Linked DNA regions of Homo sapiens: regions 2, 3, 4, 5 and 6 are each linked to region 1. Evidence: promoter capture Hi-C in 16 types of primary human blood cells and fetal thymus (Javierre and others, 2016). All regions are on one chromosome and are shown on one strand. The core of a region is centred on a gene start or on the middle of the fragment in contact, and the rest is flanking DNA. Distances in the headings are between cores, read along the strand shown. Region 1 holds the start of RSPO3 (R-spondin 3). Region 2 overlaps TRMT11 (tRNA methyltransferase 11). Region 3 has its middle 57 kb from the start of TRMT11. Region 4 overlaps TRMT11 (tRNA methyltransferase 11). Region 5 overlaps HINT3 (histidine triad nucleotide binding protein 3). Region 6 has its middle 8.1 kb from the start of TPD52L1.

Region 1 (2,700 bases), core at 151-2,650:
ACCCCACTCTCTGTACGTGTGTGTCCCAGGGGACACACTTGAAAGGGCCAGAGATGGTACAGACGCTCACATGTGACAAGAGAGAACCTGGAAACTCCGCACCTCCGGCTCCCCACAGCTGGGGTTTTGCTGTCTTCAACCCTCGGGCGGGGGACGTCCGGCAGCTCTGCAAACGCGCAGACACGCGAACCCCATCGCCTCGCGCGCCCTTTGGCTCCGCTGGTGCGTGTCGGGGATGCGGCCGCGCAGGCGCTCGCTCCCTGGCTTCCTGGCCGGGTAGCGGGCGTTCGGCTACCGGAGTCCAGCCTAAGGGCCCAGCCGAGGTCTCCCCGCGCGAGGCGGTTGCGCTAGGTGAGCGGGTACCGCGGCCGCGCCTCCCTTGTCATTTACTCAGCGGTCAGAGGCATCCTGCGTCTGGGAGTCCCAAGTGCCTTCGGCTGGGTGCCCCTGTCCGATCCTCAAAAGGAAAGCACAAATCCCGGGTGCGAGTCTAACCCAGGACCGAACTTTCCCGCGAACCTGAAGTTACCATGGGGCGGGAGCCACCTTAGCGCCGCGTCCGCCCGCCCCTCGCACCGGCTAGGATGCTGCGGAAGGCAGGGGCGCCGAGAGGCAAGGGTGAAAGACGCCGTCCATACCCCCAAAGCCCGAACCTGCATCTCCTCTGCGAGGCGCAGGGCGGGAGGACCGCTGCAGTTGGGAGCCGGCTCCGGACAGGCAAAGCGACCCGACAGGTGAACGCGGCGGGAGGGAGCAAACGCGTAAAAAACCCTGCACTTACTTCTTCGCTGGCGCCTTCCCCGGGAGGCGTTTTGGCTGCCGATGTATTCCATAAAGTTCAAAATGATAAAAAGCCAAGAAATCAGTCGCAAGTGCATAGTAACCCAGTAATGCTTCCCTTCCTTTCTCCTCTTTCTTTTGATTGTTAATTATATTTAATGTTTTTAAAATATATGTAGGTGTTAGGCGTATATAGACAGTGCCCGAGCAGCGGGACTTCTCCTCTCACATCCGATAGGCGTGCTGTGATGGCAAGCGAAGTGGGGCGGGTGGACAGGGAAACCAACTATTGTACTTTCAAATTATCCAAGCACTGAACTGCGGCGGCTTCGCTGGGGTGGCTGGCATCGCCGCGAACCGGGGTTCCAGGAGCCGCCGGGGCGGCCGCAGGTAGCATGTTGTGCGGCAACTGCCGCAGGCGGGATCCGGGCGGGCGAGCGGCGGCGGCGGCGGCTGCAGCGGCGGCCCCTTGGGCTCAGAAGCTGCGGCGGCTGCGGCTGCAGCGGCGGGGGCCCCTGGAGCGCAGGGGAGCGGGCGCCGTCGGCACAGCGGCCATGGCCAAGGGGCGGCGGAGAGACCCCGAGCTGCTTCTGGCGTGCGCGAGCAGGAGACGCTCCAGTGTTGGGCTGGGCTCCCGGGAGCACCACATAGGGGAGGAGGAGGAGGAGGGCAGGGAGGGGGGAGGGAGAGGAGGGCAGGGAGGGGGAGAGGAGGGGGGATGGCTGTGGGGGGCGGGGGGGAGCTCGGGGGCGGGGAAGGAAACTGCTGGAGCAACAACCCTGAGCGACCTCAATAACTTTCAATTTCAAGAGGGAAAGAGGGAGCTGGAAAAGTACAGGCGTTGCGCTTTGGCAGAGGGACGGGAAGAGGCGCCTAAGGGGTCCCGGGTCTACAGCGCAGCATCTCTGGACACTGCAGTGACGGCCGGAGAATTCCAGCCAGAAGAATGGGGAAAGCAGTGCGTGCGAAGAGCCCCTCCAGAAGGGCAGCTCTGGCGGGGAGACTTGGGCGCACTGGGGCTGGCAGGCAGTGTTGAGGCCGAAGACCCCCCACCCATCCCAGTTCGGCTCCTCTCCGCGGCCTCAAGCTAGGCGCACCCGGCTGTCGGTGGCCGTGCGCCCCTGCGCCCTTGTGCCCCAGCGCCCCCACCCCATCCCCAGCGCCGGCGCGCAACTACCCTCTCCCCCTTGGCAGATCGCTGGAGAGTTTCTGGCTGCTGACTTGTTCCCGGCTTTCCTGACCTTCTCCTCTGTTGCCTTTCTCCCTTTTTCTTTTTCTCTCTCTTTCTTTCTTTCTTTCTTTCTTTCTTTCTTTCTTTCTTTCTTTCTTTCTTTCTTTCTTTCTTTCTTTCTTTCTCTTTCTTTCTTTTCTTTCTTTCTTCCTTCCTCTTTCTTTGTCTTTCTTTCTTTCTTTCCTTCCTTCCTTCCTTCCTTCCTTCCTTCCTTCCTTCCTTCTTCTTTCTTTCTTTCTTTCCTTTCTTTCTTTCTTTTCGGCTGCAGTTGGTCGCCAGGCGGGTGGTGGGGAGGAAACTCTGTGGGTGCTGCCGGTCAGCTACTCTGAGGTTTACCTGCTCCGAGCGGGGAGGACCCAGAAGTGTGTGCGCTCAGGACCTTCCCGTTGGAAATGCAGCTGTGCTACGGCTTTCTTCCAAACCAAGGCTTTTCTGTGGCTTTGGAAGATTCCTTTCCCGCTCAGGCAATTCCCTCTATAGTCAGCTCGCCCCCCTTGGAGTTTTCTCTCCCACCCTCGGTCTCCCAGTGTTCTTGAGAGGATCTGTTGTACATTCTAATCTCGCATCTGGAAGACTGGGAATAAGATTTGGAAAGATTTTCCCAGTCTTGGGGAAGGAAGGGGAAGGTCCACTACTTTCTTATCTTCCCAGCCCAAGTGGAGGCCCAAGGCAGCAGAGAGTAAGATGCT
Region 2 (2,700 bases), core at 169-2,668, 1.1 Mb after region 1:
ATTACAAGGAATTACTACAATTCTGCCAATTAAGGCAGATACTCACCTAGAAGAACTAGTTGTCAAGGGGAACAGAAAAGCTTTCCTGTGCTTCCTTAACAGAACCTTATCCATTTGGTTAGAGTGAGTTTTGAGAAGACCCAATTTACAAGTACACTGCTGAAAGGAGATGAATAATCTGTTAGACTGCACCTGATACTTAACTTCGTGCCCTTTAAGCTTTTATTTTTTTTTAAATAAAATCATAATAAATTAGCTTATCTGAACTGGTCACTGGGTAATCATTGGTAGTCATCTAGTTGTTCTTTTGATTAAATTGAAGCACTTTTTACATTTAGCTATACCTCAGTTGGAGTTTTTTAGGGGATCTTTTTGGTGGAAGAAGGGGTGCTAAAAAAAAAAGGAGAGTGAAGTGTCAAGGAGGCAAGTAACATGACTCACCCATTTCTTTTTGCGTTACCAAAAGTAAAAATACTGCATATGTGATCTATGCTAGCAACTCGGTGTTTCAATTTCTCATTACTTAAATAGTAAGCACTTTAAGGTTAGGGTAGTATCTTACAGGCAAAATAATACAATAAGAATTGAATTTATTCCATGATGTAAAAACTAATTCATGATTTTCATCTTTAAAGAACTAACTGGAAAGCTTTGCAAACGTGGAGAAATGAGAGACTGGGCTTTGGTTTTGCTGAGAGAAAAAAAAGAAAGAAAAATGGCAATATTATTGCATCTATTTTATCTTTTTTAAAAAAAGAATTCTACTTAAATAAATTAAATTAGCAGGCCGAGCAAAAGAATACTGCTAGACAATGGGACTCCTACTAGACGAACCATGGGATTCCAGGAAAAGGGGACTACAAAGGGTAGTGGGAAAAAAATGCGAAAGAGAATATTATATAAACTACAGAGATCCATTATCTCACTCTCCTAACCTTCTCTTTTTCTCCCCATTTTCTCTTCCCAGAACCAGGACAGTCAGTTCCTTAACACCTGGTTTCTGCGTCCACTATTTTACAATGATAAAACTTCAAAAGGAGCTACACTCCTTTCCTTCCACCTATGGGTCATCTGAAGGTAGACATGGCCAAGGAGTATACATTAGTCTTCTGGGTGAATTCTCATTACTGGAGGAGCTGACTCACTTGACAGAGGGGATGAGAGGGGATCAGATCTACGGCTGCAGAGTTCTGTGCTACCTAAAGCAACTGGCATCCACTTGCACATATTAATTATAAACAAAGAATTTGACATTTATAATTTTATATTTCAATTCCCTTGCCTGCTGCTATAACCTGCCAACAGTTGCAAATTACTAATATCTTGGAAATTAGCCAAAAAGAGTACTAGAAAATGAGTTTATGGTCAAATTCTTTATCATCACCATTTAATATTAGCTACATCTAACATCTTTCACCAAAAAGGCATCTAAAATATCATCAAAATAATAATCAAAAAGTAATAATGATAACCATTACAGTTCACTAAATGTCTACCACGTGTCAGGCAACTTCCTAGAAATATGATATACACATATTGCCTCACTTAATCCTCACAATATATTAGTATTACCATTTTACAAATGATAGACGTGAAACCCAGACAAGTTAAGAATCTTGCCCAAAGTCACATACTAATTGGTAAAAAGATTTAAACTTTGCTCTATTTATTCTTTTCTTTATATCATACTACCTCCTTTGGGATTAGCACCAATTGAAGTAAATACATATTCACTCACCAATTAGATAAACAAAAGCAAAATATGCTACTAAACAAATTACATTAAATTAAGTAAAGCTACACACTCTGTTAATAAGAGTGTTATATATGCCATTCACAAGTCTTGTACTGTATCACAGACAGGGCTGTGCCATTAATAGGTATTCAATAAATTCATGATGATCATTCCTTTAGCCAAACTCACATGAGAATAGTAGCACTTCCTAACAACTAAGAGATGACACAATGCTATGTCTCTTCCCCTTTGGGAAAGTGGAGACACACACTTTAAAAAAAGAATTTTTACTAAAATGAAAACCAATGTATTTGTTAAAATTGAAAGAAAAGTGTGTTTCTGCCGCTCATAATGTCATTCTAAACAACAGTAGCAAACAGTCTAAAGGAAAAAAGGAAAAGTATTTAGGCATGAAAAGATTATTTTTCTCCTTTCAGTCTCCCAGAAGCTTTCTACCCTACTCTATATCCCTGAGAAAAATCACGAACCATGAGTAGTAAGTGAGCAATACATTTGGGAAACTACATACATTTCAATTTTGTACCTTTAAAATAAAAAGGGGATTAGACACATGAATTTTTTTTAAAAAACTATTTAAAAGGCAACCAAAAGAAAAATATCAACAAATGTTTTGTGAAAACTATGGCCATGGAGAAGGACACAGAGCTACGTATTTCTCCAGTCCTTCAGAAGGTACCACCCATCGATGAGGCAAAAGGCCCAAGAGAGGACAAACTGTGCTTAAGACCTGTGTCTATTCACAATTATTGGTTATTATGTTTCAAAACAAAAGCACCAAAAATTGACTGATGTCCTAAAGCTATACTTAAACTACAAACACAAATTACGAAAATATATTTCAGCAGCACCTTTGCAAAGATCCTCCTCTCATTTTCTATTAATTGTACTATATGAACAGTCAGACGTTCCAAATATACTACCCACTGTGAGGAGCTGCCCTAAAG
Region 3 (2,733 bases), core at 89-2,588, 1.1 Mb after region 1:
CGTGCACCATACCATGCCTGGGTAATTTTTGTATTTTTAGTAGAGATGGGGTTTCACCATGTTGGCCAGGCTGATCTCAAACTCCTGACCTCAGGTGATCCACCTGCCTCAGCCTCCCAAAATGCTGGGATTACAGGCATGAGCCACTGTGCCTGGCCTGATAATCAGCATTTTAACAATCAGTTCTTCCTTATACCCAAGTCCCAGAAGAGTGACCAGATTAGGCCCAGATGGGTGCCTGCACTTACAGTAGGTTGTATTAGAAAGAAGAAATATTAAGCTTAGGGAACCCAATCTTTTATAATGGGCAGTAAGCATGCCTTTACTCTGAAAGGAAGACACTATCTTCCAAGGTTGTACACAGACTTAAACCTCTGCTCCAGAAGTTAAAAGCGAGGGGGAGACAGGGGAGAGAAAGACTCTATATCTTCCAAGATTGTTCACTATACAAATATCCTCAAAAACACAGTATAGGACACAAGAAGTCTGTGCCTTTCTTAGAAAGACATATAGAAATGCAAGAGATCTATGGAGAATTGCTTCTCAATTGGTATGTAGAAAAATGGAGGCATCATGCTACCTGACTTCAAACTATACTACAAGGCTACAGTAACCAAAACAGCATGGTACTGGTACCAAAACAGAGATATAGATCGACGGAACAGAACAGAGCCCTCAGAAATAATGCCGCATATCTACAGCTATCTGATCTTTGACAAACCTGAGAAAAACAAGCAATGGGGAAAGGATTCCCTATTTAACAAATGGTGCTGGGAAAACTGGCTAGCCATACGGAGAAAGCTGAAACTGGATCCCTTCCTTACACTTTATACAAAAATTAATTCAAGATGGATTAAAGACTTAAACGTTAGACCTAAAACCATAAAAACCCTAGAAGAAAACCTAGGCATTACCATTCAGGACATAGGCATGGGCAAGGACTTCATGTCTAAAACACCAAAAGCAATGGCAACAAAAGACAAAATTGACAAATGGGATCTAATTAAACTAAAGAGCTTCTGCACAGCAAAAGAAACTACCATCAGAGTGAACAGGCAACCTACAGAATGGGAGAAAATTTTCACAACCTACTCATCTGACAAAGGGCTAATATCCAGAATCTACAATGAACTCCAACAAATTTACAAGAAAAAAACAAACGACCCCATCAAAAAGTGGGCAAAGGATATGAACAGACACTTCTCAAAAGAAGACATTTATGCAGCCAAAAGACACATGAAAAAATGCTCACCATCACTGGCCATCAGAGAAATGCAAATCAAAACCACAATGAGATACCATCTCACACCAGTTAGAATGGCAATCATTAAAAAGTCAGGAAACAACAGGTGCTGGAGAGGATGTGGAGAAATAGGAACAGTTTTACACTGTTGGTGGGACTGTAAACTAGTTCAACCATTGTAGAAGTCAGTGTGGCAATTCCTCAGGGATCTAGAACTAGAAATACCATTTGACCCAGCCATCCCATTACTGGGTATATACCCAAAGGACTATAAATCATGCTGCTATAAAGACACATGCACACGTATGTTTATTGCGGCACTATTCACAATAGCAAAGACTTGGAACCAACCCAAATGTCCAACAATGATAGACTGGACTAAGAAAATGTGGCACATATACACCATGGAATACTATGCAGCCATAAAAAATGATGAGTTCATGTCCTTTGTAGGGACATGGATGAAATTGGAAATCATCATTCTCAGTAAACTATCGCAAGAACAAAAAACAAAACACCGCATGTTCTCACTCATAGGTGGGAATTGAACAATGAGAACACATGGACACAGGAAGGGGAACATCACACTCTGGGGACTGTTGTGGGGTGGGGGGAGGGGGGAGGGATAGCATTAGGAGATATACCTAATGCTAAATGATGAGTTAATGGGTGCAGCACACCAGCATGGCACATGTATACATATGTAACTAACCTGCACATTATGCACATGTACCCTAAAACTTAAAGTATAATAATAATAAAATAAAATAAAAAAAGAAAAAAGAAAAATGGAAAAATGCAAAGGCAATTTGGCTCTTTGTGCAGAAGTCACTCCAACTTGTGGTGAGATACTCCAAGATTTATACACAAATTTTAAGGGACTCTTAAAGATTTTTAAAACTCATCAATAACAACTCAGCCCATATTGACCCACTTCACCAACTTACAACACATTACTTTGGCAGTCCATCAAAGCACAACTCCAATATCATAAGTACCATTTACATTTTCAATTTTAATTTTCTCCTCAGCCTTTTTCCTTTTCTTTTAATTTGACTAACTTCACACATAAGCCCAGCTAATCTTCACTGCTGCATGTTAGCCAAAATAGAGTTCTTCCGATAAATCCTCAGGAGAGAGCCAGGGAAGCTTGATTAAAGGAGAGATTTTTAAAGTCATAGAGGTCAAAACAGGTTCCTTTTTAGGCAATTCAGTTTGGCATGACTGCAACATGATTATCTTAGTAAGAACTTCCAAATTTTAAAACAAAAATATACTAAGCACATCTTAATATCACAAGAAATAGGGCTAGCAGTTACATAAGGGAAGCTGACTTATCTTAACATTCATCTATTAAGCCCTATTTTGTTCCATGACCCAGGCTTAAAAGACTGCCATTACAATTAAACCTCCATCCCCCAAAGAGCCCTGTCTACAAGGGCTTATAAAGGAAGGGATAAGAGCCAAATTCCAGGTTGGCCTCAGTTATG
Region 4 (2,700 bases), core at 76-2,575, 1.1 Mb after region 1:
AAAGGCTACCCTGGGTGCTCTTTTCATCTGTTCAAGTAGATTCTATGGAGAAGGTTGAGAGAGAATTGCTTCAGGTGACCGTCATTGAAAACGTAACTATTATACCTCAGTCTGTTGTGGACAACTCTGGAGATCAGCCTTTTATCCTATACATTTCATATAAGAAAAATGTTTTATAGAAGTAACCACTGTGACTACAACCACATATAGCAGCATCAACTACACGTTGTGTTAAGTGGGACAGCAAGATCTAGTAAAACAAACGGCCGGGCGCGGTGGCTCATGCCTGTAATCCCAGCACTTTGGGAGGCCGAGGCTGGCGGATCACGAGGTCAGGAAATCGAGACCATCCTGGCTAACATGGTGAAACCCCGTCTCTACTAAAAATACAAAAACGAAATTAGCCGGACGGGGTGGCAGGCGCCTGTAGTCCCAGCTACTTGGGAGGCTGAGGCAGGAGAATGGCGTGAACCCGGGAGGCGGAGCTTGCAGTGCGCTGAGATCCCGCCACTGCACTCCATCCTGGGCAACAGAGCAAGACTCCGTCTCAAAAAAAAAAAAAAAAAACCCAAAAAACCACATTCTACCATGGCCCCAAAAGTAACACTAGCTATACAGCAGGACAAGGAAAGACTATCTTTAAAAAAAACTAGTAATATGTCACTCAAGAATATTTACCTTTTAGAGCCGGGCGCGATGGCTCGCGCCTATAATCCCAGCACTTTGGGAGGCTGAGGTGGGCGGATCACGAGGTTAGGAGATCGAGACCATCCTGGCCAACATGGTGAAACCCCGTCTCTACTAAAAATACAAAAATTAGCTGGGCATGGTGGCACACGCCTGTAGTCCCAGCTACTCGGGAGGCTGAGGCAAGGAGAATCACTTGAACCCAGAAGGCGGAGGTTGCAGTGAGTCAAGATCACGCCACTGCACTCCAGCCTGGCAACAGAGTAAGACTCTATCTCAAAAAAAAAATTAAAAAAAAACATAAAAAGAATATTTACCTTTTAATCTTGGCACATTCTAAAGGTAGAAATATGCTTCGGTAGAGAGGCAGCAAGATGTAGAAAAAAACGACACAGAATTTCAAGTACAAAGAGGAGTTTTGGTCTCAACTCTTCCACTTACTATTTAAGCAAAATAGGATAGTCCCAGGCTACTCTTCCTCATTTCTAAAATGGGGAAATTAATAAAGTCAAATGGATAGGGAAGTTTTATAAACAATAATGCATTATAAAAGTGTTACTCATCATTCACTTGGCTTTCAGAATATATCAACAAGGAATAATGAAAAAACCTGGCCCTTCTTATCAGGCAATTTCAAAATTTTAATACAGTTGTCAAGAATTTTCTTCTTTACTACATATGTGCCATAAGCAAGTCTGAAAACTATGACCAATAATCCAAAACTTCAACATTTTATAAAATATCAATATTGCTTAGACAATTTTTGTTGTAACTTACATTTACACTTTTAAAAGAGGGATAGGGAGAATACTTTATAACAGCATACCAAGTGGGCCAAAAGTTATACTGAAGTTAAACCTAACAAGTGACAAATCAAAAATGAAGAGACACAGTATACAAAAGTGTAAAAATCTAAAACTAACAGTCTTCCATTGCCAAAATCAACAATGCTGAACAAGCCCAAGAATAATTTGTTAGAGGTGTGTGAGGACTGTTTGACAATTTTATGTCACCACTTGCATTATAAAGGATTGAGATCTTGCTGCAATTATATACATTCCTCTCCACACAAACAAAAGGTAGAAATGAAGTAATTAATTAAAAACCAAACATGATTAATTTAACATGACAAAGTATTTTTGGTTACAGTAAACATCATACTAGTAAAAATTCACTAGTTAAATTTGATCTTATATAGGGAAGACCATTTCAAAAAATTACTTGAGGCTTTTCCTTGTTGTTGTTTTTTTAAATCAATTGGAAAAGAACAAAATAAAATGATAAAAAGTAAACCTGACAAAAATGAGCACTGCCTTTACAGGTTTAAAAATACCAAAGGTGAGTACCCTCATTTATCATTTTAATATAGGACAAAAATTCTCAAAAGCCCAGTTTTCCTTCAGTCTCAAATAAATTTGCTTAGGGAAATATTATAAATCTGGGAAAAAATACCAGACTTTCTTAAACAAATAAAACTCAGTGGAAAGCAAGTATAAAAATTAGTCCACAATGGGTCTTAATTTTTAAATTTTTCCATTAAAATAGAATGGCTGATTTATTATATGGCTCCATGAATTATTAAAGAGTCTCCACAGCTTTGTCCTCCTAATTCTTTGGAATACTATTTATGTAGGCCACACAATAAAGAATGCTAATGCCATTTACTTTACTTTCTAATATCACGACTTAAAACTGCAAAATCTACAGGTAATGTTTGTTTTTTACATGTATTACTCATGTGCCTGGCACATAAATGTTAGTTACTATTATATTACTAACTCAAATGATTCTATTAAATGCTATGATTTCTAAGAGCTGTAATGTTACCATCTGAATTATCAAAATGCCTTACTTCCTTTAAAATACCAAAAGACAAACATATACATGAGAAGTAAGTGACTAGGAGAGGAGACAAAAAAGCATCCTCTAACGTACAACAGACTCCTCTTATTCAATGTGATGGACACTGGTGATGGTTAGTGTAATGGAATGAATTCTGTTCTACCCTAAAAT
Region 5 (2,700 bases), core at 21-2,520, 1.2 Mb after region 1:
CCCTAATTCTCTCTCCTAGCCTTCACAGGAGCTACTTCAAACCTTTTACTTGTAAATAACCATATAACCATATAATTGCTCCTTCTCCTTTTTCAAGGCTTAACCCAAATGTCACCTGCTTAGTGCAGATTTTCCTGACTAAAATTTTAAAACTGCATCCCCTTCCTCTTTATTTTCTGCCATCTAATAAACTATAAATTTTACTTATTGTTTTGCTTATTATCCTTTTCTGCAACGACAATGTGAGCTCCACAAGGGCAAGGAGTTTTGCATGTTTTGTTTACGGCTGTATCCCCATGCCTCCAACAGTGCCTGGCACACAGAGAGTGAGGAATGAGTTTCCTCTTTCCCAGGGTCAACATTCTACCCGCCGGGCCATTTTAAACCTCTCTCTATAGGCATCTTCCCACTGGGATTTGAACACACAAAAGGTTTCACTGTTTTAAAAGCTTTCTCTTAATCCCCAACTTCTCCTGTAGCTACCACTACCTTTCCCTCCTCCCCTGGATTGCCAAATTCCTGTGAGAGTTGTCTGTATTTGCTGTCTTCACTCCTTCCTTTCCCAAGTTCTTCTCAATCAACTGCTATCTGCCTTTTGCTTCACCACTTCATGAAATTGCTCTCCTCAAGGTCAATGAACATCACTTTGGGGACACAACCAGTCCTGCTCTGACTCTGCAAGGACATACAAGGGTCATCTAACCCAGATTTGAGGATGAAGGCAGGCTAATATTGCTGCTGACATTGCTGGCAATTCCTTTCTTTTTGACATACTCCCTTCTCTTAGCCTTTCCAGCGTTCCTTCTATTTCTCTGTTCCTTCTCTATTCCCTTTCCAGGTCCTCTTCCTCTGTCTGTCCCTTATGATGTTAGTGTTCTTCAGAGTTCTGTGTAGGCCTCCCCTTCACTTTTTACCTCATGGGTGATCTCATCGCTTCCCTTCTTTTTCAGTTTCCATCTATAAACCGACAGTTCCTGTAATCTGGGTTAGAGATACAGATCCCTCTACAGAGTGCTAGACTATCCAACCATTTAAAAGACATCTCTACTTAGATGCCTCAAACTCACCTCAAACTCCACAACTCCATAGCTCAACTCATCGCTTTGCTACCTCCCACCACTCCCCTGGCCATCTTTTCTCCTCCTGTGTTCCCGAGCTTAATGAAATGGTACCACCACTACTAGTTTACCCTAGCCAGAAACCTGGAAATCATCTTTGACTTCACCCTCTTTCATTTCCTTATCCTCTTATATCTAAATCAGGGTTTCTAAACCTTGGCACTTCTGACATTTTGAGGGCTGGATAAGCCTGTTTTATGTGTGTGTGTTGATGGGGTGGTGGGGGTGCTGTCCTGTGCACTGTACCATGTTAATAGCAACCCTGGCTTTTATCCATTATTTAGGTCCCAGAAGCAACCCCTAGAAGTGCCAGAAGTTGTTACAATCAAAAGTATCTCAATACATTGCAAAATGTACCCTGGGAGGGCAAAATTGCCCCCAGTTGAGAATCACTGACCTGTATCCATCAAGTCCTCCCTGTTTTACCTCCTGAATACTGTATCCCTTAAATTGATATACTTTTCATAATCTCCTCTACCACATTCTCATTTCAGGCCATCATCAGGGTAGATTAATCTACTAGCCTTCTAACGGGTCTCCATACCTCCAGACTGGTCTCCTCCAAATCATTCTCCACAATGATGCCAGAATGACCTTTCAAAGATCAACCCCCTTCCTATAACTCCGCAACATCTTCCTCCCAACCCACCATTAAACATTGTGAAGTTTCACTTTGCTCTTCAGATAAAGACAAATTCCTTCACATGACTTCCAACACACTTAATAATCTGGTCCCTTGTTTACCTCTCCAGCCTCGCCTTTCATCCTCTCAAACTCTATGCACTAGTTAGACAATTTCTGTTAGTTTTTCTATCACACAAACTGAACCTCTCGGGGGGTCTCTCAACCTGGGACATTATTCTCTCCATTTCCTCATCTGATCAACTCCTACTTATTTCTTCATGTCTCATTTCCTCTGGAAAGCCTTCCCTAATTCTTCAGAGCTGGGTTAGATGCTCCTCCCACAAGCTTACAAAATACTGTAAAATCACCTGACCACAGCACGAGGCATTGTAACTGGCTACCTCCTCTGTATACATTCCGCCCTTTAGATTGTAAAATCGGGACACAGACTGTCCCTTATCTTGCTCAAAAACCTCCAAAACAAGGTGCTTAGAAGGAATTATATTTATTTTTTAAAAAATAAAGGAATGTTTACTACAAAAGACACAATCTTTGGAGCTAATTCTCTCAAAAAGTTGTTTCTATATGGACAAGTAAAACCAACAGAATAAAGTGTGTGCCAGATTATCCGTTTAAAAATATCTGGGCAAAGTCTTCATGCTCTGAAAATGTCCACGCATCCCAACTGACAGTGGAATTCAGAGGCAATTCAATAATAGTTTGACCTCAGACCCACTCCCTCCAGCCTATTTTCTGCCAATCTAACAAACAGCTTTCCACAATTATCATTACCTATTTTCTACTAGTTTTCTCATCAGTATCGGTATTAGAGTGTGCAGGATTTAAAATCAGTATCTTGAAGGTGGAGAAGAATCCTTGTAATAAAAGCAGAGGCCACAAAATGTTATTTGTACCAACTACCTGGGTACCTGCAAACATAGGCCAAAGCATTCGGCCC
Region 6 (2,700 bases), core at 186-2,685, 2.0 Mb after region 1:
TGGCCATAAATTATTTGGCCTACCTTGACTGATAGTAGGTCACAAGACCCTCATTCTAGAGTGGTTCTGCCCCACACCCTGGAGGGAGGAGCACCACACCAAGAGGCCAAGAAGCATCCAACAGCCAAGCCTTGCTTGGTGTGTTAGGATGTTCTTGCATTGCTTTAAATACTTGGGACTGGGTAGTTTATTTTAAAAAGAAGTTTAATTGACTCTCAGTCCTGCAGACTGTACAGGAAGCATGTCTTCAGCATCTGCTTGGCTTCCGAGGAGGTCACAGGGAGCTTTTACTCACAGTAGAAGGTGAAGCAGGAGTCGGCATATCACATGGCAAGAGAGGGGCAAGAGAGAGAGAGTAGGAGGTGCCCCACACTTTTAAATGACCAAATCTTCCGCGAACTCACTTATCAGAAAGGGGATGGTGCTAATCCATTCATGAGGGAGCCGCTTCCGTGAGCCAAGGACCTCGCATTGCACCCTACCTCCAACACTGGGTATTACATTTCAACATGAGGTTTGGTGGGAACACAGATCCAAACCGTATCACTGGGTTTCCCCTCTCAACCTATGACCATTAGATCATACCCCTTCTGTTCAATCACATTTCCTCATGGCTGTCCATTCTTCACTGAACATAAAATTAAGCATAAAAATAGAGTTTTCTTAGGTCTTTAGGTCTTCATTTATGAAGACTCCCCGTCACATAAAGCTTTGATTAAATAAGTTGCTTTTGGTTAAATAAATGTGCTTTTCTCCTGTTAATCTGTCTTTGTCGGTTTTTATTTCAGACCGAGCCAGGAGCCCTAGGAGGTTTGAGGAAACTTTTCCTTCCCTATAAGATTTACTTTGCACTTTGGGAGGCCGAGGTGGGTGGATCTCCTGAGGTCAGGAGTTCGAGACCAGCCTGACCAGCATGGCAAAACCCCGTCTCTACTACAAATACAAAAATTAGCCGGGCATGTGGTGGGCACCTGTAATCCCAACTACTTGGGAAGCTAAGGCAGGAGAATTGCTTGAACCTGGGAGGCAGAGGTTGCAGTGAGCTGAGATTGTGCCATTGCACTCCACCCTTGGTGACAGAGCAAGACTCTACCTCAAAAAAAATAAAAGATTTACTTTGACATTGAGAAGACTAAATCATATAGATCATATACCAATATGAGACTGTTCTAATTACTAAAAACTAACAAAAATTAATAAATCTTGACCAGATGCCTGAAAGAGAGCCCCTATTCAGCCAGTTGAAAGAACAATTATTTCATAAAGTACAAACATTTCATGTTTATCCCTCAAAAAGTTGTAGCTTCCCAACAAATTGAATGCATTACATGAAATGCTTTACACAAAGCTTAATGAATAAATTTTGTCTTTTCTACATTCCACTAAAGTTTCTAGACATATTCACTGGATCTGTAAATAATGCATGGATATTCAGAGAACTTGGAGGATAAAGGTGCTTATTTTCATTACAAAAGGACATATTATTTAGTTGTATCCTGAGGTTCCCATATACTAAAGCTTATTCCTTTACCCTTGAAAACTTTTTGAGAAATATATAATTGCTTTTACTAACAATCTCTAAAATGCATTTAAAATTTATTAGATCTCTGAGATTTTAATGCAGGGTTTCTCAACATTGGCACTATCGACATTTTTGCTGGATAATTCTTTGTTGTGCTATATGATGTTTAGGAACATCACTGGCCTCTACCCACTAGAGGTAGAGAGTAGTAGCCCCATGGTCATGATGATCAAAAGTCTCCCTACATTGCCACATGTCTCCTGGAGGGCAAAATCACTCTCAGGTGAGAAACACAGCAGTACCTTTTTCTTGACAACTCAGAATCATTACAAGTAAAAGTTATTACCCTGTACAATATGGGGATCCCTACACTGAAGGAATGCCTTCTGAGCCTAGGCAGGGGTGGAGATTTTTGTCCGTCATTTCCACAAACAGCCACTCTTGGAGTTTTCCTGTTTCCCTCTGTTGTTGTTAGTCATTGTTCACCTGCTTCCTTAACACATCCTTAACATCCTTAACAGATGCCACCATAGGAAGGGAAAGGAGTGATACCTTTCCTCACCCATCATAAGGGTCAGGCTAAAACTCCTACAACAAAAGATAGGTTAGCAAGTGTGTTAGTGAGTTCTCAGAGGGATAGAACTAATTTTATATATATATATATATATATATATATATATATATATATATATATATAGAGTTTATTAAGTATTAACTCACACGATCTCCCACAATAGGCCATCTGCAAGCTGAGGAGCAAGGAGAGTCAGTCCGAGCCCCAAAACTGAAGAACTTGGAATCTGATGTTCAAGCGCAGGAAGCGCTGGGAGGCTAGGCCAGTCTAGTGTTTTCGTGTTTTTCACTGCTTTATATTCCAGCTGTGCTGGCAGCTGATTAGATGGTGCGCACCAAGAATAAGGGTGAGCCTGCCTTTCCCAGCCCACTGACTCAAATATTAATCTCCTTTGGCAACACCCTCACAGACACACCCAGGATCAATACTTGGCATCCTTCAACCCAGTCCAGTTGACACTCAGTATTAACCATCACAACAATTCAAACCATAACAAATTTATGTAATCAAAGATTTGGGTTACATGGGAGCCTTCAGAAATGAAGACCCTAGAATCCAGGGGAAACTGTTTTTAGGCTTAAGTTCAATGAAGAATGGACAGCTG

What was found. Contacts are between HindIII fragments. The CHiCAGO score rates a contact against its expected background, and 5 or more counts as called.
Region 2: a contact is called between a fragment that was not itself captured here and the fragment with the promoter of RSPO3 in region 1, in 7 of 17 cell types (M1 macrophages, M2 macrophages, megakaryocytes and 4 more). The highest score is 10.0, in M1 macrophages.
Region 3: a contact is called between a fragment that was not itself captured here and the fragment with the promoter of RSPO3 in region 1, in 6 of 17 cell types (endothelial precursors, megakaryocytes, M1 macrophages and 3 more). The highest score is 9.8, in endothelial precursors.
Region 4: a fragment that was not itself captured here is called in contact with the fragment with the promoter of RSPO3 in region 1 in 4 of 17 cell types (megakaryocytes, endothelial precursors, erythroblasts and 1 more); the score reaches 6.8 in megakaryocytes.
Region 5: a fragment that was not itself captured here is called in contact with the fragment with the promoter of RSPO3 in region 1 in 1 of 17 cell types (M1 macrophages); the score reaches 5.7 in M1 macrophages.
Region 6: a fragment that was not itself captured here is called in contact with the fragment with the promoter of RSPO3 in region 1 in 1 of 17 cell types (activated CD4 T cells); the score reaches 5.5 in activated CD4 T cells.

Annotation. Positions count from the first base shown.
Region 1 is chr6:127,117,371-127,120,070 of GRCh38, reverse strand. It overlaps RSPO3 (R-spondin 3), which reads right to left and starts at 1,400. Exons shown (of 5, transcript NM_032784.5): 1 at 782-1,400. The coding sequence starts at 878. It overlaps LOC105377989 (a long non-coding RNA gene), which reads left to right. Exons shown (of 14, transcript XR_002956387.2): 4 at 1-1,170. The HindIII fragment of the contact is 5,242 bases long and covers 1-2,700 here.
Region 2 is chr6:126,004,301-126,007,000 of GRCh38, reverse strand. All of the region lies in intron 7 of TRMT11 (tRNA methyltransferase 11), which reads right to left. Among named protein-coding and RNA genes, the nearest start is that of TRMT11, 19 kb to the right of the region's middle. The HindIII fragment of the contact is 1,534 bases long and covers 652-2,185 here.
Region 3 is chr6:126,042,329-126,045,061 of GRCh38, reverse strand. It overlaps a transcript of TRMT11 not described here. Among named protein-coding and RNA genes, the nearest start is that of TRMT11, 57 kb to the right of the region's middle. The HindIII fragment of the contact is 2,112 bases long and covers 283-2,394 here.
Region 4 is chr6:126,024,670-126,027,369 of GRCh38, reverse strand. All of the region lies in intron 12 of TRMT11 (tRNA methyltransferase 11), which reads right to left. Among named protein-coding and RNA genes, the nearest start is that of TRMT11, 39 kb to the right of the region's middle. The HindIII fragment of the contact is 8,451 bases long and covers 1-2,700 here.
Region 5 is chr6:125,957,465-125,960,164 of GRCh38, reverse strand. The region is part of intron 1 of HINT3 (histidine triad nucleotide binding protein 3); the gene reads right to left. Among named protein-coding and RNA genes, the nearest start is that of HINT3, 2.0 kb to the right of the region's middle. RefSeq lists an enhancer at 2,173-2,222. The HindIII fragment of the contact is 1,638 bases long and covers 452-2,089 here.
Region 6 is chr6:125,144,310-125,147,009 of GRCh38, reverse strand. No RefSeq gene overlaps it. Among named protein-coding and RNA genes, the nearest start is that of TPD52L1, 8.1 kb to the left of the region's middle. The HindIII fragment of the contact is 170 bases long and covers 1,351-1,520 here.